Linked DNA regions of Homo sapiens: regions 1, 2 and 4 are each linked to region 3. The links are contacts of gene promoters, found by promoter capture Hi-C in blood cells and fetal thymus (Javierre and others, 2016). All regions are on one chromosome and are shown on one strand. Each heading gives the region's core, a stretch centred on a gene start or on the middle of the fragment in contact. The rest is flanking DNA. Distances are from core to core; before and after follow the strand shown.

What was found. Contacts are between HindIII fragments. The CHiCAGO score rates a contact against its expected background, and 5 or more counts as called.
Region 1: a fragment that was not itself captured here is called in contact with the fragment with the promoter of PCCA-AS1 in region 3 in 6 of 17 cell types (monocytes, activated CD4 T cells, naive CD4 T cells and 3 more); the score reaches 6.2 in monocytes.
Region 2: a contact is called between a fragment that was not itself captured here and the fragment with the promoter of PCCA-AS1 in region 3, in 1 of 17 cell types (non-activated CD4 T cells). The highest score is 5.0, in non-activated CD4 T cells.
Region 4: a contact is called between a fragment that was not itself captured here and the fragment with the promoter of PCCA-AS1 in region 3, in 2 of 17 cell types (erythroblasts and M2 macrophages). The highest score is 6.3, in erythroblasts.

Annotation. Positions count from the first base shown.
Region 1 is chr13:99,922,892-99,925,637 of GRCh38, reverse strand. All of the region lies in intron 1 of CLYBL-AS3 (CLYBL antisense RNA 3), which reads left to right. Among named protein-coding and RNA genes, the nearest start is that of CLYBL-AS3, 33 kb to the left of the region's middle. The HindIII fragment of the contact is 3,259 bases long and covers 1-2,746 here.
Region 2 is chr13:99,711,171-99,713,870 of GRCh38, reverse strand. All of the region lies in intron 1 of CLYBL (citramalyl-CoA lyase), which reads right to left. Among named protein-coding and RNA genes, the nearest start is that of CLYBL-AS1, 16 kb to the left of the region's middle. The HindIII fragment of the contact is 5,637 bases long and covers 1-2,700 here.
Region 3 is chr13:100,479,597-100,482,296 of GRCh38, reverse strand. It overlaps PCCA-AS1 (PCCA antisense RNA 1), which reads left to right and starts at 1,282. Exons shown (of 5, transcript NR_047686.1): 1 at 1,282-1,317. The region is part of intron 21 of PCCA (propionyl-CoA carboxylase subunit alpha); the gene reads right to left. LOC107984574 (a long non-coding RNA gene) reads left to right here and starts at 1,090. Exons shown (of 3, transcript XR_007063850.1): 1 at 1,090-1,177; 2 at 1,867-2,036; 3 at 2,534-2,700. The HindIII fragment of the contact is 6,979 bases long and covers 1-2,700 here.
Region 4 is chr13:99,961,820-99,964,519 of GRCh38, reverse strand. ZIC5 (Zic family zinc finger 5) reads left to right here. Exons shown (of 2, transcript NM_033132.5): 2 at 1-1,556. Among named protein-coding and RNA genes, the nearest start is that of CLYBL-AS3, 6.0 kb to the right of the region's middle. The HindIII fragment of the contact is 763 bases long and covers 887-1,649 here.

The DNA.
Region 1 (2,746 bases), core at 44-2,543, 560 kb after region 3:
GGACCCTAGCTGAACATGGGCCATGAAAGAGAATGCTCGTTTCATATCCTGAATTGGCCCCTTCCTGGCTTTGGGACCTTGGGCAAATTACTGAGTCTCCAAGCCTCGGGTTTTTCATCTGTAAAATGGGATGATGGTAACAATAAGAACTAGTTTGTTGGATTGTTGTGAGAATTAAATGAGGTTCAGTACTGTGCCTAACCCATAATAAGCACTGAACACATGTCTAGGGCATTATCGGAGGATGAAGATGGAAATTGTGTTTGAGTGTCTCATAAGGTCTACTCCTGGGCTTTAGGGGCTGGAGTTGGAGCACGAGCACAGGCCACAGAGGCAGAAGCCCAGGCCACTGCGAGGTCTGTGGGGAAGGCTGAGGTTTCAACCCTCCAGAGATGGGCAACAGCCCCAGCTGGGATGGCCAGAATCATGGGGCAGAGAGGCCCACTCCATGCTAGAGGCAGGCAGGGCACCTGGAGGGCTGTGGGTGGGGTGTCAGGCCCCAGATGATTGCTCTGGGAGGGCACATGGACAGTCAAATTGGGTTTAGGGCTGCAAAGAAGGGGTATTGATGTTTAAAAATTTTTTTTACAGTGATAAAATATTTGCAACAGGCCAGGCATGGTGGTTTACACCTGTAACCCTAGCATTTTGAGAGACTGAGGTGGGAGGATCGCTTGAGTCCAGGAGTTCGAGATCAGCCTGGGCAACATAGTGAGACCTTATCTCTAAAATAAATAAAAAAAATTAGCCAAGCATGGTGGTGCATGCCTGTGGTCTCAGCTACTTGGGAGGCCGAGGTGGGAGGATCACCTGAGCCCAGGAGGTCAAGGCTGCAGTGAGCCACTCAAAAAAAAAAAAAAAAAAAAAGAAAAAAAAAAAGCATAACATAAAAATCACCAGTTTAGAACAGGTGTGGTGGCTCATACCTGTAATCCCAGCACTTTGGGAGGCCGAAGCAGGTGACTTGCTTGACTCCAGGAGTTTGAGACCAGCCTGAGCAACATAGTGAAATGCCATCTCTATAAAAAAATAGAAAAATTAGCCAGGCATGATAGTGTGTACCTGTAGTCCTAGCTACTTTGGAGGCTGAGGCAGGAGGATCACCTGAGCCTGGAAGTTGAGGCTGCAGTGAGCTGAGATCATACCACTGCAGTTCAGCCTGGGCGACAAAGTGAGACTGTTTCAAAACAAACCAACCAACCCCAAACAAAACCCAGTTTAACCATTTTTAAGAGTACAGTTCATTGCCATTGCGTACATTCACACTGTTGAGCAACCATCCTCACTATCTGTTTCCAGAAGTTTTTTATGATCCCAAACTGAAGCTCTGTTCCCTTTAAACAACAACTGCCATTCATTCTTCCTCCAGCTCCTGGCAGCCACGATCTTACTTTCTGTCTCTATGAATCTGCCTACTATAGTTACCTCATATAACTCGAATCATACAGTCTCTGTCCTTTTGTGCCTGGCTTGCTTCCCATAGCATCATGTCTTCAATCAAGGCTCATCTGTGTTGTAGTGTGCATCAGAACTTCCTTCCTTTTTAAGGCTGTATAATATTCCATTGTATGTGTATACCACATTTTGTTTCTCCATCCATCAATAGACACCTGGGTTGCTTCTACCTTTTGGCTACTGTGAATAATGTTGCTATGAACGTGGGTGTACAGATATCTGTTTGAGTCCCTGCTTTCGGTTATTTTGAGTATATTCTCAGAGGTAGAATTGCTAGATTATATGGTAATTCTATGTTTAATTTTTTGAGGAGCTGCCATACTATTCTCCAAAGCAGCTGCAGCTTTTTTTTTTTTTTTTTTTTTTTGAGACACGGGTCTTGTTATGTTGCCTGGGCTGGTCTTGAACTCCTGGCTTCAAGTGATCCTCCCACCCTGGCCTCCTAAAGTGCTGGGAATACAGGCATGAGCCACTGTGTGCCTAGCTGCACCATTTTACATTCTGGCCAGTAGTGCACAAAGGTTCCAATTTCTCCACATCCTTGCCAACACTTATTTTTCATTTTTCTGAAAATAGCCACCCGAATGGGTGCGAAGTGGTAACTTATTGAGGGAGGCTGGCTGTAAGGGCATCATTAAAGAGTCCATCTCTAAACAAAAGACACCAGTCTGAATAATTGTCCCTCTGTTAAGGAACTCATACTTCGAGTGTGTAGGACCAAGTGGTCGCTCGCTAGATTCTTCACTCTGTTGGGTGGGCCCTATTTGAAGACAGGTGGTAACCTTGGCAATGGGATTGCATGGGCACCAAAATGTCCATCTGGCCCCAAAGGTGGTCGTTCCCAGGTTGGCATGTTGCCTGACATCCTCAGCAGGAAGATTACCTGTTAACACGGAAACAAGTTACCTGGGAGGAGAGACACGACACATGAGTGTGAGCACAGTGGCTGCTGCCGCCTGGCACGGAGCCTGGGACGGCGGTACAGGGCGTGCATATTTGGGAAAGGCGGGGAGATCGGAAGCTGCAGACCTTGCTCTGGCAGCAGAGACCAGGCAGGCCGGGGCAGAAGGGAAGGCCCCAGACGGCCTGGGTATGGGTTGTTCAGGACCAACACCTGTGTGCCTGAAGCACCAGCTGCAACAGGGGGAAACATCCCCCACTCCCTCTCCGATCCCCATGTGGCTTCCCCATACCTTTGCACGACTTCCACTCACTCCAGTGACATCTTCAGCATTGCCTCCTCCCATCTGCCCACTTTCCACCCTCTCCCAGCACGCCCACGCTCTTCTTC
Region 2 (2,700 bases), core at 137-2,636, 770 kb after region 3:
CAAAAAAATATATTTAAAAATTAGCCAGGTATACTGTCTTGTGCCTGTAGTCCCAGCTACTTGGGAGGCTGAGGCAGGAGGATCATTTGAGCCCAGGAGGTTGAGGCTGCAATGAGCCATGATTGCACCACTGCACTCCAGCCTGGGCAACAGAGCAAGACCCTTTCTCAATCAATCAATCAATCAGAAACATTAGAGAACATGAAAAAGCTATCAAAAATAAAAATTTGAGGCCAGACATGGTGGCTCATGCCTGTAATCCCAGCACTTTGGAAGGCCAAGGAGGGCGGATCACCTGAGGCCAGGAGTTCAAGATCAGCCCAGCTAACATGGTGAAACCCCGTCTCTACTAGAAATACAAAAATTAGCCAGGCATGGTGGCAGATGCCTGTAATCCCAGCTACTCAGGAGGCTGAGGCAGGAGAATCACCTGGACCTGGGAGGCGGAGGTTGCAGTGAGCCAAGATCACACCACTGCACTCCAGCCTGGGCGACAGACCAAGACTCTGTCTTAAAAAAAAAAAAAAAAAAAAAAAGAAATAGAGAAATACAAAGAAAGCTCCTAGAACTAAAACACATAAATTTTCAGACTGAAAGGCCTATGGAACACCTACATAATTAACAAAAATGATCCCATCAAAGTACATCAATGCAAAGTTTGAGAGGACTAGGGAGAAAGAGATCTTCAAGAGAGATCTTCAAGAAAGAGATTTTCAAGAGAGAAAAAAATTTACAGAAAAAGGATCAAGAATCAAAATGGCACCATTTTAAAGCAATGGCAGCATTAGAAGCAAAAAAGGGAGCAATGCCTTTAACATTCTTAGGGAAAATGTTTTCCATGAAGTCTGAAGAACACCAAAGACCTCTTCAGACATATAGCCTCAAAAACATTTAACTTTCACGAACCCTCTTTTCACATAACTACTAGAAGACACACAGCCCTGAATGAGGAAATAAGCCAAGAAAGAAGACATGGTTTCCAGATACTGGAAATACAGAGTACAAACAGAGCAAACGCCAGGATTATGGTGTTTTATAAACAATGGAAGTTTTAGAAACACAGAAATGCAGCTGGCCTAGAAAGCGACAAGTTCAGGATAGAAGACTCCAGAAGGAATTCCTTTAAAAACAAAATCAAAAGTAGTAAGGGTATATTGCTTAATATTGACGACTTTGTCAAAGAGTTGGAAGAAAAAATTAGTTTTAGCAAAAGAGTCAATCACTGGCCAGGTGTGGTAGCTCACACTTGTAATCCCAGCACTTTTGGAGGCCAAGGCAGGGAGATTCTTGAGCTCCAGACTTGGAGACCAACCTGGGCAATGTGGCAAAACTCTGTCTCTACCAAAAAAAAAACTCAAAAAAACAAAAATTAGCTGGGTATGGTGGCACGCACCTGTATTCCCAGCTACTTGGGAGGCTGAGGCGGGAGGATCGCTTGAGCCCAGGAGGCAGAGGTCACAGTGAACCGAGATCACGCCACTGCATTCTAGCCTGCGCTATAGAGCGAGACCCTGTCTCAAAAAAAAAAAAAAAAAAAAAGTCAATTGCTAACTCCAAGGGGACAAAAAGTTATATGAGAAAGGAAAATTGTAGTGTACCGTATGGCTCAGCTGTGAACACTGCTTTCCTTGGCACAGTATAAACACTGAAGTGTGTATCAGGGGTATAATACGACAAAAGAGAACTGTCTTCAACTTCCATAGCAGAAAGTTAATGGTACTATAGACAGAATGTTTCTGTCCCCTGCAAAGTATGTTGAAGTCTTCATTCCCAGTGTGATCAAATGTGGAGGTGAGGCCTTTGGTTGGTGATTAGTCACGAGGACTGAGCTCTCATAAATGAAATCAGCACCTTTATAAAAGACAGACTCCCTCACGCCTGTAATCCCAGCACTTTGGGAGGCCAAGGCGGGTGGATCACGAGGTCAGGAGTTCTAGACCAGCCTGGCCAAGATGGTGAAATCCTGTCTCTACTAAAAATACAAAAAATTAGCCGGGCGTGATGGTGGGCGCCTGTAATCCCAGCTACTCTGGAGGCTGAGGCAGGAGAATCGCTTGAACCCAGGAGGTGAAGGTTGCCGTGAGCCAAGATGGCACCACTGGACTCCAGCCTGGTGACACAGCAAGACTCTGTCTCAAAAATATTAAAAAATAAAAAATAAAAAAAGCTGCGTGCGGTGGCTCACGCCTGTAATCCCAGCACTTTGGGAGGCTGAGGTGGGCAGATCACCTGAGGTCGGGAGTTCAAGACCAGCCTGACCAACATGGAGAAACGCCATCTCTACTAAAAATACAAAATTAGCCGGGCGTGGTGGTGCATGCCTGTAATCCCAGCTACTTGGGAGGCTGAGGCAGGAGAATCGCTTGAACCCGGGAAGTGGAGGTTGCGTGCCGAGATTGCGCCATTGCACTCTAGCCTGGGCAACGAGAGCGAAACTCCGTCTCAAAAAAAAAAAAAAAAAAAAAAAGACGGACTCCCTCACCCCTTCTGTCATATGAGGACGCAGTGAGAAGGTGTGCGTCTGTGGACCGGGAGGCGCAGGTGCTTCCTTAGCACCAGACACTGAACCTGCCACTGCCTGATCTTGGACCTCCAAGTCTCCAGAAGTGTGGGAAATAAATTTCTGTTGCTTATAAGACACCCAGTTTATGGTATTTTGTTATAGCAGCCTAAATGGACTAAGACAAATAGATAACTGTG
Region 3 (2,700 bases), core at 33-2,532:
ACTCTGCATCCCTCCTGGCTACTGCCTTCTGACCTGACCCATGTTCTCCACACAGTCCTCTGCTCTAGCTGCTGCAACCACACTTGCACTCACGACCAAACCAGCCCTACGTGGCTATCGCCACCACTGTTCTTCCTAACTGACAAGCTGTCTCAGGTACCCACAGGTTAGATATTTCAGGGGAAATGACTGTTACAGAAATGTTCATGTTAGAATGAAGAAACAGATCAATACACATCAATCATATTAAAAAGGTGCTTCTAAGACAAAGCATATATTATTTTTATTATTCATATTCAATATTTTAGGAATTAAAGCAACGATGTTTCTGCAAATTTATGGTTTTGAATTGATGGTACGTTGTAATAATGCATAGATAGGGTCTGCCTGAGCTTTCACCCCAGGAACTGTAAACTTTATATTACAGTAGTCCCCCCTTATCCAAGGTTTTAGCTTTCCAAGGTTTCATTTACCTGTGGTCAACCATGGTCCAGAAACATTATATGGAAAATTCCAGAAATAAACAATGTATAAGTTTTAAATTGTGAGTCATTCTGAGTAGTGTGAGGAGATCTTGTGCTGTCCTGCTCCATCCTGCCTGGGTCATAAACCCTCTCTCTCGGGGTCCAGCATCTCCACGCTGTAGACACCCCCACCACCAACCAGTCACTTAGTGGCCATCTCAGTTACCAGATCTACTGTCAGGGGGTCTCAGTGCTTAGGTTCCTTTTTTATTTTTGAGACAGAGGCTGGCTCTGTCGCCCAGGCTGGAGTGCAGTGGCATGATCTTGGCTCGCTGTAACCTCCACCTCCTGGGCTTAAGCCATGCTCCCACCTCAGCCTGCCGAGTAGCTGGGACTACAGGTATGTGCCACCGTGACCGGTGAATTTTTGTGTTTTTTGTAGAGGCAGAGTTTTGCCATGTTGCCCAGGCTAGTCTCAAACTCCCGAGCTCAAGTGATCCACCTGCCTTGGACTCCCAAAATGCTGGGATTACAGGTGTGAGCCACTGTGCCTGGCAGGAACTATTATTTGACTTCACAATGGCCTCAAAGTTCCAAGAGTATGATGCTGGCAATCTGGATATGCCAAAAACCAGCCATGAAGTCCTTCCTTTAGTTAAAAGGTGAAAGTTCTCAAGAAAAAAAAAAGTATGCTGAGATTGCTAAGATCTACAGTAAGAATCAATCTTCTATCCATGAAATTGTGAAAAAGGACAAAGAAATTTGTGCTAGTTTTGCTGCTGTACCTAAAACTACAAAAGTTACAGCCACAGTGTGGGCTAAGTGCCGAGCTGAAATGGAAAAGGCATTAAAGGCAAGCGTATACAGGGTTCGGTCCCATCCGCAGTCTTAGGCATCCCCTGGGGATTTTGACATGGATCCCCCGTGGAGAAGGGGGGCTACTGTACAGTACACTTCCCTTCAGCAAGCCGCATATTCAAGTTCTCTATTTCAGATTCCCCTTCGTGACTGTCATGCAGGAAGCAAAGAAAACCCATTGTGTCCAAGGAAATTTTTACTTTCTCTAGGGATTCAGAAACCTGACTTTCTGATACTCAGAAACTCAGTGCGCATGGGTGAGAAGGCTCGGTAGGGAAGAGGTGCTTTGTAGCTCAGGATCTGCTGGAGCTGAGGGCGTTTTTTGGTTTAATCTAGTTTCACTGTGTGTTTCATGGAGAGGTTCCTCTAGGAACAAAAGGTTCTATGGAAGTCACGTCCTTTATCCCTCTTAGCCATCCCTGTGTCTGCCTTAGCCAACCTCCCATTTGTAAAAAGAAAGCAGAGACCAGGCTATGGCTGAATAGTTTCAGACAGCCCCTATACCACTGTCAGCCTTTGCAAAGTGTAATGCTTTAATTACAAGGGTCACACAAGGTCTTAAGACACAGGAGTCCCTGTGTCTGAACGTAATCACTGTGTATGCGTCTCAGCCTAATGAGGAGGTGACTATCATGAAGGTCTGGTGGTGAAGATCTTGCAAGAAGGTGCCTTGTTTGAGATCTTTCAAGGAAACACAGTACTCAATAAATGTGGGTGAGTAGAAATTACAATTTAGTTGGGTTAATTTTTGGTAGTAATATGGAGCTTTGCAAAGAGAAAGGCATTTGCTGAAGACACTGGTAAAATATGTGCTGAAGCTCTGCCTCATCTAGTCTGGTTCAAAAGTCAAATATCAAAGAGTCAAGAGACCCTCCTATTCAGAAGAAAGCCCTGACTTGTTAATTTATTAGAAGCAAGAGTAAATGCTCCATAGGTTTTTCATTAAATAAAATTAGATCTAGTCCCAGGGCTTTTCTGTAATGGGTGCTCCTGAGTCAGGAATCAAGACCCATGAAGTAAGAAAAGAACAGGTAGGCAAGGGGGTACCTTCTCCTCTAACAAAAGTGGCCTATCAGATGGTCAGGGAGTCTCTATCAGTGGAGCCAAACCAGCTCCACTGACACAGTTAAAGACCCTTGCCATCAAGTGCAAAGGGAAGCAGTAGGACTTAGAGTAGGCCATTTCCTACTAAAAATGGAATCATTTTTCAGTTCGGTGTACAGTTGAGCCTTGAGCAACATGGATTTGAACTGCATGGGGCCACTTAAATGTGCATTTTCTTATGACTCCGCTGCTCTTGAGACAGCAAGATCAAGCCCCCTCCTCCTCAGCCAACTCAACGTGAAGACAATGAAGATCAAGATCTTTAAGATGATCC
Region 4 (2,700 bases), core at 19-2,518, 520 kb after region 3:
CTTTCTTTTTCCTATATGTTTTTTTTTTTTTATCTGAATTCTCAGATACTGCCTCCTAACTGTGTCCAAACTTCTTGTGTAATAAAGAGATTCTGTTTTCGATCCTAAGTTCTTTGGGATGCCAACATTCACAGTCAAGTCTTGAGGAGGTGTGATGATGGCATCATGCCTATTTTTTTGGAAAGCTGTTGTTTTTAAAACAGGCCAACACCTCTTTTATACTGTTGTATCAGCCTTTTAAAAAGTCTATTTTTCAATGCCTGAAACTGCATTTTAATGCATTTTCTTCCACCTGAGCACTGAGCACACCAAACTGGAATCCATTTGAAAATGACAGTGTGTGAAGTGTATGATTTACATTAAAAGAGGGGAGGGAGTTGCCATACATATTAAAAATTTTTAAAAGGTTTATAGTTACCACCAAACACTGATGAATGTGTGACCTTTGCCAGAGCTGTCAAGCTAGGATAAAAAAGGTCAAGGACCTAGGACAATAACTCTTAGTCGATTTATTTTCGGTTGGTACAACACATCTCCTGTGCAAAATGTAGTCCATCAGAAACATCCTACAGATACACTAAAGAGCACTAATTTATCCTTAGAGACCCCGAAGACACCCCCTCCCCAGGGTTTGTAGAAATTTGTTTTGTGTGCTGTGAGTGGTTGATGTAGTCTTGTCATTGTTAATAACTTGTATGTGAACACTATTATTTGTACAGTTGAATTAATTTATTTTCAGACATCATCCTTTTTTTTTTTCTTTCCTGGAAGAGTTCAAAGCACACCAAAGAATTATATTATACATTTTGGTGAAAGATTGTCATTTATGATCCATGGTTTATTTAAAAAAAAAAGGAAAGAAAATGGAAAAATATATTTTTAAGCTTACTTGAATGAACAACGTAATGTGAAAACCAAGACTCTTCCTGCATGTCTTTTTTGCATTGTGTTGATAAGATTATATATAGTTTATAGATATATTATATTACTAGTACAGTGCATGGTGCTGTCACTTGGAAAGCCTTTCAATGTTGTCTTCAGATTGTTGTGATGAATATGAAACATGCAGACCCTCCTTTATAAAGAAAAAGACCTTAAAACTTGAATATGAGATAATTTTACATTTTAAAAGTTTATTTGATTTTCATATTATTCACTTTCAAAGCCCTTTCAAATAGAAAAGGTATGAACTTTTGGGGGGATAATTTATGTATCGTAAACTTATTAGAACAAAATATTCCTGATGTATAATGAGTTGTTTTATTTATACAACTTTTTCAATGGTAGTTTGCACTATTCTTTATTATGCTACAGGTTTATTTATTATGAAACAAAGGAATATGTATTTTATGTATTTTACCATGCATAGGTTAACTCTTTGCCACAGATTTATTGGTTCTTGATACACCTAAAATAAAAAAAAATGTGTACCTCCAATAGAGAGCAAGCAAGAATGATTATGAAGTAACAAATTTAATAAAGGTATTCTTGTTATTATTGCTTATGTTTTACATAATGGCATATCTCTCATACAAATAGAACAGGTTGCTAATGGAGTGAATGTCTTCCCTTGGTCTCTTGATTTCTCAGCCTCTCCCCAAGCAATACAATATTTTTGCAGCCTGGTTTAACTTAACAACTTACAAGCTTATCTAGGAAACACAGATATTTATGAAGACTAAGCCTTGCAGGTTATACTTACAGTAGCATAAATCTTTTGGGTTACTGCATTTATTTGTTAAAATAAGTAATATCCTGATTGATTCTAATCAGTGAAAAGCCAAAAAGTGAATTTTAGCATTTCTTTGGTGCCCAGCCTCCAAAAGGAAAAAAAAGAATAAAGAAAATGTGGAGGAAGGGACGGTGAGGCTTCTAGACAAAAAGAAGGTGAAAGCAAAATCAGTCAGGGGCTGAGATAGGTATTGAATGAAATTGAGTAGTGGGCATCAAATGCCTCTTATGGCGTGGGAGATCAAGATGCAATTTTACTGTAGTTTGTTCTGGAAGTTGAGTGGCTATTGGTAATTTAAGCTCAGCATTTTGGGCCAGGTGTGTTGAACAATTAGATTCTTGCATGGCAGCAAAATATTCAAGTGGCTTAAATGCAGGTGTTTGGCTATGCACATTTACAAGGCTGGATGTTTGCTTGTGTTTTTGTTAGCAGATACAAAACTGATAAAAGTCAGATAGTTAAAAGCAACTGCTAGTAATGTCAATAAGCATTTCTCTGAAAGGTTATAGTGGCTTTTAAAAGTCAGGTTTGTTAAATGTAGTAAAGGTGAAACAGGTTGCAAAGAGTTGTTTTAACTCAGATGACAATAACCAGCACACGAAGGAGAAAAACACTCATAAATGAGGGCCCCAATCAATGGGAAAACTTATAGCTCTCTAATGAAGTTTCTTGTGAAAAGAAGGGTGACACAAAGCCACCAAGACATGAATCATTCATGGGAAATATAAAAGATAAAAGATATCTGACAATGAGCAGAACCTTGTATAGAGTGTATAAAACAAGTTTCCCCTTCTTATTTTCTGCTTTAAAACGCACAATCTCCCACTCCCAGCATTCTCTGTCCAGTCTATAGAGTTAAAATTGACCACTGCTCGTACTGCGCCACTTCAAAGTAATTTAGTCCAGAACGGAAGGCTTGGCGCTCGGACAATCTTCATGGTGTGTTAAGATTTCTATGGCAATTGGCA